Linked DNA regions of Homo sapiens: all the other regions are linked to region 2. Evidence: promoter capture Hi-C in 16 types of primary human blood cells and fetal thymus (Javierre and others, 2016). All regions are on one chromosome and are shown on one strand. The core of a region is centred on a gene start or on the middle of the fragment in contact, and the rest is flanking DNA. Distances in the headings are between cores, read along the strand shown. Region 1 overlaps LOC105372437 (a long non-coding RNA gene). Region 2 holds the start of LENG1 (leukocyte receptor cluster member 1). Region 3 holds the start of PTOV1 (PTOV1 extended AT-hook containing adaptor protein).

Region 1 (4,710 bases), core at 1,000-3,499, 3.8 Mb after region 2:
CACTTGAACCTGGGAGGCAAAAGCGGCAGTGAGCCGAGATCACACCACTGCACTCCATCCTGGTGACAGAGCAAGACTCTGTCTCAGCCGGGCGCGGTGGCTCACACCTGTAATCCCAGCACTTTGGGAGGCTGAGGCAGGTGGATCACCTGAGGTCAGGAGTTCGAGAGCAACCTGGCCAACATTGCGAAACCCCGTCTCAACCAAAAATACAAAAATTAGCTGGGCGTGGTGGTGCGCGCCTGTAGTCCCAGCTACTCGGGAGGCTGAGGCAGGAGAATCACTGGAACCCAGGAGGCAGAGGTTGCAGGAAAAAAAAGTGAAATTAAGATTTGATGCTTACGTTTTTCCGCAAGGGTGGGGAAATAGTCTCCAACATCATGAACTGAAGCATGCAAGGGCCACCATCCGAGGGCTTCTGCAAAGGTCAGATTTCATGTTAGGGTCTTGGGAAAACTTTGAGAATGTCAATTCCCTGGGAATGGCTTATTTTAAGGACTTGGATACCATTGGGAAGTTCTGTTTGGGATGGTTTGTTCCTGTAAAGTCTTTGGGGATATCTGTCATCATGGTTTCTGTGCTAGGGTTTCCCGGAGGTTGTTATTGTAGGGTTTCTGGTAATGACTCCTATTGTAGCGCCTTGGAAATGTTGAATTTGTCATCATATTCCATTTGGGTAAGTCTATTTTAGAGGGTCTCCAGGAAGGGCGGCTTCCTAATTCTCATCATCTTCATACCCTACAGGATCCCTCTTCGTCAAGTCCACCCTGGACGCAGGACCCTGAACCTACTGAGGGGATGGGGAAAACCAGCAGAGCTCCCCAAGTTGGGGGCCCCATCCCCTGGGGACAAGCCTGCCTCGGTACCTCTCTCCAAATTCCTGGATGTGAGTCACAGCCCTACACAGCCCCCACTCCTGTGCCCTTGAGCCAAACTCTTCATTGACTCTGTCTCTTCTTTTGCCTCCTCAGGCCCAGTATTTTGGGGAAATTGGGCTGGGAACGCCTCCACAAAACTTCACTGTTGCCTTTGACACTGGCTCCTCCAATCTCTGGGTCCCGTCCAGGAGATGCCACTTCTTCAGTGTGCCCTGCTGTGAGCTTCTATGTGGGAGAATAAGGCTGAATGGGGGTGAAGGGAGAAGGCGGGGCTGGGCCTCAGCTTCCCAAAGGTTTTTGAGGAACTGTTCTTTTCTGACACCCTCAAAGGTCAGAAGGTTAAAGGGGCAGAAGGCATTCGGAAAGCTCCCCTCCCACAGTGACACCTCTCTGACTTCTGACCTAGGGTTCCACCACCGCTTCAATCCCAATGCCTCCAGCTCCTTCAAGCCCAGTGGGACCAAGTTTGCCATTCAGTATGGAACTGGGCGGGTAGATGGAATCCTGAGTGAGGACAAGCTGACTGTGAGTGGCCTTTGACTCCAGGAAGCCTCGAGCCTGGGAGAACCCTGTTGTCTAAGATCATCTGGCTTAGGGAGGGGCTTGAGGTGCAGGGGCTTCCTGAGCCGATGGATGGGGCTTCTCAAGGAGGGGGAGGGGTTCCTGGGTGAAGGGATAGGAATTCTCTCAAGTCCAGAGGCAAAGTTTGCTAAGCAGTTGGGGGCTTGGGTCCAGATGTCCCCAGACCTGGGATTAATGCTTTGGTTTGGGAGACCTCAGGACATGTGGTTATTGTCCTCCCAAAAGTAACTGGTCACATCTCAATCTACCCCTAGATTGGTGGAATCAAGGGTGCATCCGTGATTTTCGGGGAAGCTCTGTGGGAATCCAGCCTGGTCTTCACTGTTTCCCGCCCCGATGGGATATTGGGCCTCGGTTTTCCCATTCTGTCTGTGGAAGGAGTTCGGCCCCCGCTGGATGTACTGGTGGAGCAGGGGCTATTGGATAAGCCTGTCTTCTCCTTTTACTTCAACAGGTGCTGGGGAGGGTGCACCTATCTATGAGTCCTATTCCTCAGAAGGAAGTGAGGCCCTCCTTCAGGAAGTCTCTTACTCCATAAAGAAAGTCCCAGTTCAGGCACGGTGGCTCATGCCCGTAATCCCAGCAATTTGGGAGGCTGAGGCAGATTGATCACCTGAAGTCAAGAGTTCCAGACCAGCCTGGCTAACATGGTGAAACCCCATCTGTACTAAAACTATAAAAATTAGCTGGGTGCGGTGGCACATGCCTGTAATCCCAGCTACTTGAGAGGCTGAGGCAGGAGAATTGCTTGAATCCGGGAGGTGGAGGTTGCAGTGAGCCGAGATCGCACCACTGCTCTCCAGTCTGGGTGACAGAGAGAGACCGTCTCCAAAAAAAAAAAAAAAAAAAAAAAATCAATCCCACCCTTCATTCAGGAAGTAGCCACCTACCTAACAGAAGAAACACCTCAACCCTATTCATAAGCCCCAGAGCTTAAGTGACAACTTAAGACATATTAAAGAAACTCACCAACAGTTCAATATGCTGAGTTTCAAAATCAAACTAGGAAATTCTATGCCCCACCCAACCAAATACTCAGGAACCTTCTCTTCACCATAAAGCTCAAATCCCATTTGAGAACACTGACCAGAAGTCAGGAAATGCCTGATTGAATTCACGAAGCCCCACCCACCTGGTAGGAAGGTCAATCTTATGCTCAGAAGTCCCACCCACCACCCGAGAAGTCTTCACTTTCCCTCCCAGGGCCCATCACACACAGTCCAATGCCCACTCAGTTACCCTGACATCCAACCCACTCAAGAAGTTCCACCTAGCTCTCGGTAGGTCCCACTCATTTACATCTTCCAGGAAGTTTCCATCCCCGTTCCCATCACTCTCAGCCAGCTCAGGAAGTCTAACACCTTTCTAGATACCACAACAGGCAATTCAGAAAGTCTATGCACCTTCCCAGGAAGCCACCCCACTCCTGTACAAGTCACACCTTCGAGCCAATTCTGAGACTCCACTGGTCTGCTTGGTTACTATGATATTCAGCTCAGGAATTTCCCCCAAAAGCTCTACCTTCCACAGCCAAATGAAGAAGTCTCCTCTCCACTTCAGGAAGTATCCATCATCCTAAAGTCCTAACTTCCATCAAGAAAAGCACCATTTCCCTTCATTTCTTGTTTCCAGTCCCAACATCTCGGCCCTGCCTGCATTCCACTGCCCCAACTAGAACCCCAAAAATGACCCAATTGGCAGGAAGTCCCATCCCTGGCCATTCCTAGGGCTGGCGGGGGAGGGCTGGCGACAATGACCTCTACACTCTGCCCCTGCAGGGACCCTGAAGTGGCTGATGGAGGAGAGCTGGTCCTGGGGGGCTCAGACCCGGCACACTACATCCCACCCCTCACCTTCGTGCCAGTCACAGTCCCCGCCTACTGGCAGATCCACATGGAGCGGTGAGGGACTTGGTCTCCTGGGTCTGGAGCTGGAGGCCTGGACTCCTAGGACCCTGCCTCTAATGACTGCTTCCTTCCCCCTCAGTGTGAAGGTGGGCTCACGGCTGACTCTCTGTGCCCAGGGCTGTGCTGCCATCCTGGATACAGGCACACCTGTCATCGTAGGACCCACTGAGGAGATCCGGGCCCTGCATGCAGCCATTGGGGGAATCCCCTTGCTGGCTGGGGAGGTGAGGTCCCAGTCTCTGGTGGGTGTGTCCTGGGGAAGATGATGGCAATTCCATGGCGAACACTGCGGCCTGAGGATGGGAAGCAGGTAGCTAGAGCGTATCCAGGACAGAGGGGACTGGGCTTCTTAAGTGACATGCCAGAGAGTGGTGGGAGGAAGCAAAGATACTTCCCAAGTGTCTATGCTAAGTGGCTCAGTGGATGGTGAAGTAGGGGTGGGAGTGGGGGGGGGGTTGTTGGGGGAGATGATAATGCAGTTTTGTTTGGGACTAGATGAGAGGAGCCTAGGCAACAGGGCTGTCCACACACGGTGCTGAATACCCAGGTGCTCAATATGAACATTACTCCATGGCACTGGGGAGCCACGGACGGGATTTGAGCAGAGCAGGAATCTCCCATCTTCACTTGTTCCTCTCCTCCACCAGTACATCATCCGGTGCTCAGAAATCCCAAAGCTCCCCGCAGTCTCACTCCTCATTGGGGGGGTCTGGTTTAATCTCACGGCCCAGGATTACGTCATCCAGGTAGGTGTCCGTCATAATGACGCCACAGTGATGTAATATGACTGGAGTTGAGAGGGTGGAGCTGGTAGTTGGACATCACTAGGGCCGGAAGGGGCCACAGAAACATTTCTTGTCCCCGGGGTTGGGGGCGGAGAGAGCACGGACTCCCAGGGAAATGGTGGTTCCTGCGGCCTGGACACCCAGTTGCCGCCTTGTCGCCTTGCAGTTTGCTCAGGGTGACGTCCGCCTCTGCTTGTCCGGCTTCCGGGCCTTGGACATCGCTTCGCCTCCAGTACCTGTGTGGATCCTCGGCGACGTTTTCTTGGGGGCGTATGTGACCGTCTTCGACCGCGGGGACATGAAGAGCGGCGCACGAGTGGGACTGGCGCGCGCTCGCCCTCGCGGAGCGGACCTGGGAAGGCGCGAGACCGCGCAGGCGCAGTACCGCGGGTGCCGCCCAGGTGATGCGCATGCGCACCGGGTAGCAGAGCTAGCGCTACTCAGTAAAAATCCAATATTTCCATTGAACGAACCTGCCTAGGTTGCTTCTTTTCAGAGCGTACTTTTTGAAGAGAAAGCTTTGTGCATGGACCCACGGAGTTGAGGAAGAGAGGGAGG
Region 2 (4,591 bases), core at 755-3,254:
ACTAAAAATACAAAAAAAATTAGCCGGGCTTAGTGGCAGGCGCCTGTAATCCCAGCTACTCAGGAGGCTGAGGCAGGGGAATTGCTTGAACCAGGGAGGTGAAGGTCGAAGTGAGCCAAGATCGTGCCACTGCACTCCAGCCTGGGCGACAGAGCGAGACTCCGTCTCAAAAAGAGAAAACAAACAAACAACAACAACAGCAAAACAAATTAGCCGGGAGTGGTGGTGCACACCTGTAATCCCAGCTACTCGGGAGGCTGAGACACGAGAATAGCTTGAACCCGGGAGGGGAGGCTGCAGTGAGAGCCACTGCACTCCAGCCTGGGCGACAGAGCGAGACTCTGTCTCAAAAAAAAAAGCCTGGGCGACAGAGCGAGACTCTGTCTCAAAAAAAAAAAAAAAAAAAAATGGAGGCACAGACTCTTGTGTTTCAGAGCCCTTTTCTCCGTGCCTTCCCCCACCAGCTTACCCTCTTCTCCACCTGCTCCCCGGCTGCCCGCACCTTCCGGGCCTCCGCGGCGAATTTCTTTTTCCCCTTGGTCCTTCTCCTGGGTCTGGCCATCTCCAGCGTTCCCCTGCTTTACAGCATCTTCCTGTAAGTGCGAGAGGCTCCCGCCTCTCTCCCTCCCTCTCTCCCCATTCAGTGTTCAGACTCCTGGCACTATGTGAGCCCAGCCTGTCTTGACTTCAGGATCCCGCCTTCTAAGCTGTGTGGTCCATTCCGGGGGCAGTCGTCCATCTGGGCCCAGATCCCTGAGTCTATTTCCAGCCTCCCTGAGACCACCCAGAATTTCCTCTTCTTCCTGGGGACCCAGGCTTTTGCTGTGCCCCTTCTGCTGATCTCCAGGTGAGACGGCCCAGACTTCTGGGTCTGGGTTTGAATGCGTGTGATCTGGGGGCCACCACCTGCGTCCAAGAGAGGAGAGGCTTGGGCGTGGGAGCAGGCAACGTACTGAGTCTGAGGGAGGAGGCCTAGGCTCCTGGACTGCTGGGTCCGAAGGAGGAGGTGGGCGGGACGTAGGACTCCTGGATCTGAAGGCGGAGGGGCTGGGAGACTGAACTCCTTGAGCCCAGACGAGGAGGGGCTTAGGCGTCCACATCCCTGGCTTCGAAGGAGCCAGACGTTTGGATATAATGGAAGAGCGTGTCAGGAGTGGCTTCCGTTCCTGTCTCCTTCAGCATCCTGATGGCGTACACTGTGGCTCTGGCTAACTCCTACGGACGCCTCATCTCTGAGCTCAAACGTCAGAGAGAGACGGTGAGCCAGGCGGGTCCCTGAGAGGGCCCCTGGGGAACATGGAAAGGGGTTGGGGAAGAGGATTGTCTCACCTCCACCTCTCTTTGCCCCAGGAGGCGCAGAATAAAGTCTTCCTGGCACGGCGCGCTGTGGCGCTGACCTCCACCAAACCGGCTCTTTGACCCCCGCAGCCCACGTCCCGCTTTCAGACCCCAGGCCCATTGTAAGCCTAGGTCACAACATCTGTAAACTAGGAGAACTGGAGAAGACTCCACGCCCTTCCAGCTTTGGTATCTGGAGATTTCCAGGGCCCCTCGCCGCCACGTCCCTGACTCTCGGGTGATCTTCCTTGTATCAATAAATACAGCCGAGGTTGCTGAGCGCGCTTTGAAATCTGCGTCCTGAAGGTGGGGGCAGGGCTACAGCGGGGCAGGAGCCAATCAAATGTACGGGCATGTTTGTCGGTGCAGAGCGCTCTTCCGCAAGGAGACTTGTCGGTCATGTCGGCCAATCGACGGCCGCATCTGGTAGCATCAGGGGCGGGCCAACTTATGATTGGTTCAGATCTGTGACAAGAGGCGGTTGCTAGGGGATACCACGAGCCGAACGCCTAGCATTCGCTGTGATAAAGGGCGTCTCAGCCAATCACCTGTCGCTACAGGCCAGGGGGCCGTACCAACTAATTCGGAACCAATCCGCGGTCGAAGTAGGGACAAGAAAAAGGGGGGCATCCTCTCGCCAATCGGAAGTGCAAAGAGGCGGGCGTGCCAGTCCCTGGACAGCTACGACGCCATGAATATCTTGCCCAAGAAGAGCTGGCACGTCCGGAACAAGGACAATGTCGCCCGCGTGCGGCGTGACGAGGCCCAGGCCCGGGAGGAGGAGAAGGAGCGTGAGCGGAGGGTGCTGCTGGCTCAGCAAGAGGTAAGCTCGGAAGCCGGCAGGGCGGCGCTCCGGGGCCCAGCGCGCAGGCGCCGCGGTTGGGGGCCGGAAGCGGAGGCGTTGCGCAGGCTCAATGTGCCCCGTGTGAAATTCGGGACCAGGCGCCGATCCCACTTTCGAGGACGTTGCCCCGCAAACCTTGTGCCCACTTCCACGAAACCTTCCTTGATCTCGCCCTCGTCTTAGTTTTTCCCCCACTGATGTATTTCACATGGCTGGAACAGTGTCTAGCACAAAAGAGAAGCTTAACATTTAATGAATCCGTGAACCCTTGGACAGTTCAAGGAAATTCGGATCACTTTTTAGTTTGCCTGCACAGCCTATTTATTGAGCATCTACTGTATGCTAACTACATGCCGTGCACCTGACTTGCGGAATCCCCAATAAGCACTGTTCGTTCTTAGAGGGGCACTGTCATCTCTGTTGCACGAAGTGAGATGGCTTCAGTGAGGGGAAGGCACATTTTAAGGAGAGGCGGACAGCCAGGCTCCACGCCATCGGGCGAGCCCTTTCGTGCACCGCCCCCTAGACACATACACACAAACACGGGCTTTCCGTATGGCTCTTTAAATCTGTTTGGTGTACACCCAACTTTCATTTCCTTAGCTAGTCTGATCCTCCGCCGTGGGTGGGAGGTAGTCTAGGTTTTTAGAATCTCAGTAGGCTGCTGAGCGCTGTTTGAAATCCGCGTCCTGAAGGCAGGGGACAGGGCTTCAGCAGACTTGGGGTAGTCACTTGGAGCCATGGCTAGAATTCAGATCGTCTGGCCTAATGCATACCTTTATGGCTGTTTTAATTGTCTCACTTGAGGTTAGGAACCCCTTTGGTTTAGGCCAGGGACCTCCTCCCATACATCCTTGATGACCCGTGGTTTACTATTTGAAAGGGAGTTTACAAAACCCAGGCGTTGCCTCATCTGCCTACCCTCACCCCCAGCTAGGACAGGTGCCTCTTTTAGGCGCCTAGTGCTCCCTTTCTCATAACCCCAGCACCCTGGACTGCCATTTTCTGTGGTGGGCACCAGACTCACAGTTCTTGAATTACCTCTAGGTTCTGAATGTCCTGCCTATAACTTTCTCCCCAGGCCCGTACAGAATTCCTACGGAAGAAAGCCAGACATCAGAACTCACTGCCTGAGCTTGAAGCAGCAGAGGCGGGAGCCCCAGGTTCTGGCCCTGTGGACCTGTTTCGGGAGCTGCTGGAGGAAGGGAAAGGAGTGATCAGAGGCAATAAAGAGTACAAGGAAGAAAAGCGACAGGAGAAAGTAAGCTGGCCTCACCCACTTCATCAGAGGGGCCATGAATCGAGTTGGAGGGAGGGGGCACTTTAGCCATTGGTTGTGACCAAGGTCAAACAAGAGTGAACACACAGAATTTAGGACCATACCAAGGCATGACACTCAAAAAGCGTTGGCTATTGCCGTCTGGGCGCCCACAGGGGTTGGAGGTAGATGCTAGAGGTCCCCAGCTGCTGGGCAAACCGCTCAGTTCTCCAAACTGGAGGAGTCTCAAACCTGATGGGCTTTTAAAAATTTAAATCAGCCGGCTGTGGCTCACGCCTGTAATCCCACCACCTTGGGAGGCTGAGGCGGGTGGATCACCTGAGGTCAGGAGTTCAAGACCAGCCTGGTCAACATGGTATCTCTAAAAATACAAAAAAAATTAGCCGGGCATGGTGGTGCGCGCCTGTAATCCCAGGGAGGCTGAAGCAGGAGAATCGCTTGACCCAGGAGGTGGAAGCTGCAGTAAGCCGAGATTGCGCCACTGCACTCCAGCCTGGGTGACAGAGCGAGACCCCATCTCAAAACAATCAAACAAAAAGTGAATCAATCGCCTCTTGCTTTTTGGCTAAGATCAAGTGTAAAAGGTACATCAGTGGCTGTGCATGGTGGCTCACGCCTGTAATCCCAGCACTTTGGGAGGCCAACGTGGGTGGATCACCTGAGGTCAGAAGTTCAAGACCAGCCTGGCCAAACATGGCAAAACCCCGTCTCTACTAAAAATACAAAAATTAGCTGGGCATGGTGGTGTGTGCCTGTAATCCCAGCTACTCGGGGGGCTGAGGTAGGAGGATTGCTTGAACCTGGGAAGCAGAGGTTGCAGTGAGCCGAGATCGTGCCACTGCACTCGAGTCTGGGCAACAGAGCGAGACTCCATCTCAAAAAAAAGAGGTACATCAGCTCTTGTCATTTATCTGCTGTCTCTGGACTTGCTGACCCCACCCATCGCTCCTCTGCTTTGCTTGATCCCTTCAGGCTTCTCTTCAAGTCTCTCTGCAAAGATGCCTGCCTCTGAACACTCAAGTGGCTCCACTTGTCCCCTCCTTCCCCTGCTGTTACTGTACCTGCTACTGTCCCCCCAGGGGGAGCTTTGCCTCTGTTTGTCTTCCATCCCCAGCACCTGGTCCAACTGG
Region 3 (5,155 bases), core at 1-2,500, 4.3 Mb after region 2:
AACTAGATGCGAATGCTGCAGGAAGGGGCGAAGGCAGTGGAGTGAAGGGGTACGTTTAAGTTGTGGGAGGTGATCTAAGTCTCGGTATCCATGTTTATGACCCCAGGAAGCCTGTTTAAGGTTTCAGTAGGGCTGCCACAGCTCTGTGCCATCCACACCGCTGAGGCAGTGTATTTAAGAAGCGGACCCGAGCGCGAACCCAGGGGAAATCTCACATCGGGGCAAGCGTGTGCACGGTGCAAAGTCGCGATGTGCGGTTTTACAGCCCCAGGTAAACCTTACGGTTTCTGAAAAGCATGTGCATCTTTTGGGTCCGGAGAAGCGTGTGCAGCCCAAAGTACCTGCGAAGCTGAATGTTTACGTTTAAGGTCTGGGCTCACGGCAGTCCATCAAAGCATCCCACATGTGGGCGCGGGCGCGTATTCTAGGTGCGCACTCCACGGGCACGGAGCGGCCGCCAGGGGAGAACGCCCACGGGTGCGACATCTGGGGGCGCTGGTACAAAGCGCGGGCCCCTCCCTCGCCGCTGTCCCCCAAAACCGCCCCCATTTCCAGGTTTCCTGCCCGGAGAGCGAGCAACTCTCCAATAGGAAAAACAAGCGAGCGTGCCGGCTGCCTGTCTGCCGCCCCCAGCCCGCGTTTAAATCGGGCCGCGGAGTCAGCAGTAATATGAGCCCGCCCCGCCCCCGTCCCCCAACCCCCCACCCCGGCCCGAACGCGCAACAAAGGGGAGAGCGCGGCGCGAACCACCGGGTGCTCCACGGGGGAACCCGGCCCCGGGCGGGACCACCCTTCGGGCCACAGGGGACACCCCGGAGCGGCGGGGGCTGCGGACAAAGGCGTGAGCCCGGGATAGGGGCTGGGGGGGCGGGGCCGTGGAAGGCTCTGGAAAAAGGGCGGGGGGCTCACCATGGGAGGGGCCGAGCGGGCCCGGATCCGCGGAGGCTGCGGGCCTCGGGGGCTGGCAGGCCAGGAGCGCGAGCGGACGGCGCGCACCACGAGGGGCCGCGGAGGGCGGCCGCGACCCCCGAGGGGGCCCCCGGCGCCGGAGCGGTACGGGGCACGGCGCGGACGGACCATGGCGGGCGCGGGCCGAGCGGGCGGGGAGCTGCCGCGGGCCACAAGGGGGGCTGCGGGCTCCACCGACTGAGGGGCGCGGGCGCGGGCGCGCGGCTTCGGGGGAGACGGGCTGAGCCGTACCAAGCTCGGGGGACGCGCCGCCGGAGTGGGGTCGCCGCGGCCGAACCACTGAGGCGAGCGGGGGAGCCCGGCGCGTACCAAGCGCGTCCGAGGGGGCGTGGCCGGAGCGTACCAAGGCGGCGCGGGGGAGCGGGGCCCGGGCGGGAGCGGAGTGTGGGCTCGGCGGTCCTGCGGGCCTCTCCGGCGCGGGGGAGTCCTGGGAAGACGCGCGAGCCACAACTTCAGGGGGCGTGGCGGGAACGGGAGCCCCTACCGAATGGGGTGGCAGAAGAACGAAGGCGACACCAAGCTGGCCCCTTGCGGGGGTCGGGACGGCGGGAGACCTCATCCGGAGCCCTGGGCCCGCAGAGCCAGGAGACCGCGCCAAAATACATCAGGGAAGAGGGGAGGACGGAATAATGGGCCTGGGGACAAAGGAACCCACTGAAAGGGAACCCACTGAGGGTACGGATTGCACCCGAGCCTGAGACAGCTGAAGGTTTGCAGTCGGTGACGTGGCGAGGTGGGCAAGGGACTCCAACTCCCAGCGGGCCCCGCGCGGCCTGGGCGGGGCCAGCTGTCCCTGGAGGCTCCGCCCATTAGCCCCGGCGCCCAGGCTCCGCCCGCCGTCCCTGGCGACTCCAAGCTTCTCGCCACTCACGTCGCTCCCCGGCCTTCCGTGGATTCGCTCATTCGCTCTGCTAAAATGGAATGACTACTTACTAGTAGTTGTATAAGATTTTTCCCTCGATTTTTGTTCCTTAAACGTGGGTAATACCTAACCCTAGAGTGGTTATGGGGATCGAGCCCGAGGGGCTGTGCTTGACTGCTTGGCGCAGTCACTACTCAAATGTTAGCTTTTCTTTAAAAACAACAACAAAAATCTGTTATGAGTACCCTGTCCAGTTCTGTGCTCGGCGACGACCGAATCAGACCACGTCCCTCACAGGCCCCACGGTCCACTGGGGAGAGACATAATCACAGGCTGTGCTAAGTGTTAACTAGCGCACATCCACAGGGCGATGGGATATGACCATAGCGAGGTAAAGTTAGCAAGCAAGGGAAGTCAAGAAAACGACCTGTGAGCAACCTGCCATTCCAGATGGCTGGAAAAGTGTGCAAAGAGGACAGAACAGCAAAGACAAATCCTGAAAGTAGAAGGAATAAAAGGGAGCCAGTGTGGGCGGAGTCGAGTGAAGGTAGAGAGGAGAAATAGACACAGCTGTAGGAGGTTAGAGACGGAGTCCCTACTTCTGTTTCGGATGTTGACTAAACAATGTAGATAGATATTGATGTCATAGCCTGGAGAGAGAAATTCGGGAGTCATCAGTGTTTGAATGGAGACTGGATGAGCTCACAAAGAGACTGGGACACTCATCCCTTTAGCAGTCACGACAATGAGAAGCAACCAGCAAAGGACACGGAGGAGTGGCCAGTGAAATGGCAGAAGAACCCGTAGGCCTGTCCATGTTTTCCTGCCCAGGGGCTCCCGAGGGCTGACTGGAGCCCAGCCTTAAACCCCAAATCCAACCTGCATTGTGGCCAAACGGAGTCAGTGCTCCCTGAACACAAACTGCAAGTTAGTTATCAACAGGTACCTCCAATGCCCTGTCAATCACCCATGTGAGGACAACCTGGCAGCAGGAAGGAGAAAAAACAGGAGCTGCTTTAATCTCCCGGAATCCTCACTTCTCCCCATTCTTGTTGGTCCAAACCATCAAGATCTCTTGCCTGGGTGACGTCTCCTAACTCTTGCTGCCTTCTCTGTCACTACAATAATCAAAACCATCCAATGGCTTCCCAGTGCCTTTAGAATTAAATCCAAACTTGGTACTGTGGCCCCTGCTGCCGCCCCCCAAAAAATCTCTCTCCCATCCTTCCTGTTCTCTACCTGTTAATGCCTTCCCATCCCTCAGAACCCATCAGGACACACGTGAGTTTGAATGCCCTGAATTGTATAAGCATGGAGAGCGGTATACCAGGGTGTACTCCAGAGTGAGCAAAATGGGAACTCATGTCAGAAAGTGAAATGAAAATGTAGGCTGAAATTCTATCAGTAATACTGCAACAAAACTCTCTGAAACCATCTCACTTAACTCGGTCCACCAACTTGAAAGACACTTTCCTTTTCATCTGTGAAGCCCACTGCTGGGGCTAGCAGGCTACTATTATGACTAAGCAATTCCACTTCCATCTCTCAAGCTGTTTACTTCCTGAAAGGTAGCTGTTTGATCCAAACCTGTTTATGCCAGAAGTTCTTGTTTAATTTACTATCAAACTAATGAAATTAATGCAAGACAGTTGTTTATACACAAACCAGATTGCTTGCTTTGGAAAGACTAAAAGGGAGTTGTTAAAAGAAAAACATGCCAGGCGTGGTGGCTCACACCTGTAATTCTGCACTTTGGGAAGCCGAGGTGGGCAGATCACTTCAGGTCAGGAGTTCAAGACCAGTCTGGCCAACATGGTGAAACACCGTCTCCACTAAAAATACAAAAGTTAACCGGGCATGGTGGTGTATGCCTGTAGTCCCAGCTACTCTGGAGGCTAAGGCAGGAGAATCGATTGAACCCAGGGGGTGGAGGTTGCAGTGAGCTGAGATCTCACCACTGCAACTCCAGCCTGAGCAACAAAGCAAGACTCCATCTCTTAAAAAAAAAAAAATGCTGCCAAGTTAGGTACAAGTAAAGCAACTGTAAATTATTTAATGAAAAAGCTTATAAAAACCTAGGAAGACTCAGCCCCCAGTTTGTTTCATAAATGTCTTTAGGTTCTCAAGCCACTTAAAAAAATGACTCATTGTGGTTTGTGGGTGGAGCTTATACAAGAATGTGATGTTCTACTGGGCGCAGTGGCTCATGCCCGTAATCCCAACACATTGGGAGGCTGAGGTGGGAAGATTGCTTGAGCCCAGGAGCTCGAGACCAGCCTGGGCAACACAGTGAGACTCCCACCTCTACAAAAACAACAATAATTTTCTAGGCATGGTGGCATGCACCTGTGGTCCCAGCTACTCAGGAGGCTGAGGTGGGAGGATCTCTTGAGTCCAGGAGATTGAGGCTGTAGTGAGCCGTGTTCACACCACTGCACTTCAGTCCAAGTGACAAAGTGAGACCCTGTCTCAAAAACAAGAATGTAATGTCGTGTGCTAACTAGGAGACCAATACTGAAAGAAAGGGTCTTGGTCCTACGTACAAGAGATGTCTGTTTAAATGTTCTTGGTTAAAATAAGATGTTTAAAGTGTTAAGATGGCCGTTAGTGCTATTTGCCATATATTTCTAGCTCCACACTTGGCCAGCATTTGACCCCATTTAGCTTGAGTGCGGCCATGTGATTAATTTTGGCCAGTAAGGTGTGAGGCCATGTGATTACATCTGGCCAATGAGATATGAGCAGAAGTGACACATGTGAATTCAGCAAGAGCACATAATTGCTAATGGAAGACCAGACCCCTCTGCCTTTACTATGTCCATTGGCAACCTTCATGATCTGTCCGCACGGGCTCCAAGCTGACACTCAATACAGCACGAGTGACAAAATCCACCTTGGCTGTTTCAAGCCACTGCAATCTGGGGGTAATCTGGCCTTTCCTGATATACACAATTTTTTTTTCCCAAATAATCCCAGTTTAACCAACATTTGTTAAACCAATCAACTACCAAGTCTGAGTTTCCTAGAAGAACAAACTGGCAGTACATATAGGTTGGATGACATAGGCTAGGACACAATGACAACATGGACAAAGTGTTTTATACTGGCCGGGCACGGTGGCTCATGCCTGTAATCCTAGCACTTTGGGAGGCTGAGGCAGGTGGATCACCTGTTGTCAGGAGACCAGCCTGGCCAACCTGGTGAAACCCCATCTCTACTAAAAATACAAAAATTAGCCAGACGTGGTGGCAGGCGCCTGCAATCCCAGCTACTCAGGAATACAAATACAGTCTCCTGATTGATCCTCCAATTCAAGCAGGAGAA

What was found. The method cuts DNA at HindIII sites, captures the fragments that hold promoters and counts their contacts. A CHiCAGO score of 5 or more calls a contact.
Region 1: a fragment that was not itself captured here is called in contact with the fragment with the promoter of LENG1 in region 2 in 1 of 17 cell types (activated CD4 T cells); the score reaches 6.2 in activated CD4 T cells.
Region 3: the fragment with the promoter of PTOV1 here is called in contact with the fragment with the promoter of LENG1 in region 2 in 2 of 17 cell types (fetal thymus and non-activated CD4 T cells); the score reaches 5.5 in fetal thymus.

The regions. Positions count from the first base shown.
Region 1 is chr19:50,333,710-50,338,419 of GRCh38, reverse strand. It overlaps LOC105372437 (a long non-coding RNA gene), which reads right to left. Exons shown (of 4, transcript XR_007067299.1): 2 at 344-418. It also overlaps the pseudogene NAPSB. Among named protein-coding and RNA genes, the nearest start is that of KCNC3, 6.7 kb to the right of the region's middle. RefSeq lists an enhancer at 3,850-4,710. The HindIII fragment of the contact is 4,846 bases long and covers 1-4,672 here.
Region 2 is chr19:54,157,134-54,161,724 of GRCh38, reverse strand. LENG1 (leukocyte receptor cluster member 1) reads left to right here and starts at 2,004. Exons shown (of 4, transcript NM_024316.3): 1 at 2,004-2,161; 2 at 3,264-3,443. The coding sequence starts at 2,030. TMC4 (transmembrane channel like 4) reads left to right here. Exons shown (of 15, transcript NM_144686.4): 12 at 465-595; 13 at 692-847; 14 at 1,180-1,258; 15 at 1,351-1,617. The coding sequence ends at 1,419. RefSeq lists an enhancer at 2,002-2,671. The HindIII fragment of the contact is 1,716 bases long and covers 710-2,425 here.
Region 3 is chr19:49,847,254-49,852,408 of GRCh38, reverse strand. PTOV1 (PTOV1 extended AT-hook containing adaptor protein) reads right to left here and starts at 1,250. Exons shown (of 12, transcript NM_001394010.1): 1 at 910-1,250. The coding sequence starts at 1,080. PTOV1-AS1 (PTOV1 antisense RNA 1) reads left to right here and starts at 733. Exons shown (of 4, transcript NR_040037.1): 1 at 733-841. RefSeq lists silencers at 1,052-1,341, 1,782-1,861 and enhancers at 1,442-1,551, 3,353-3,432. The HindIII fragment of the contact is 14,157 bases long and covers 1-1,827 here.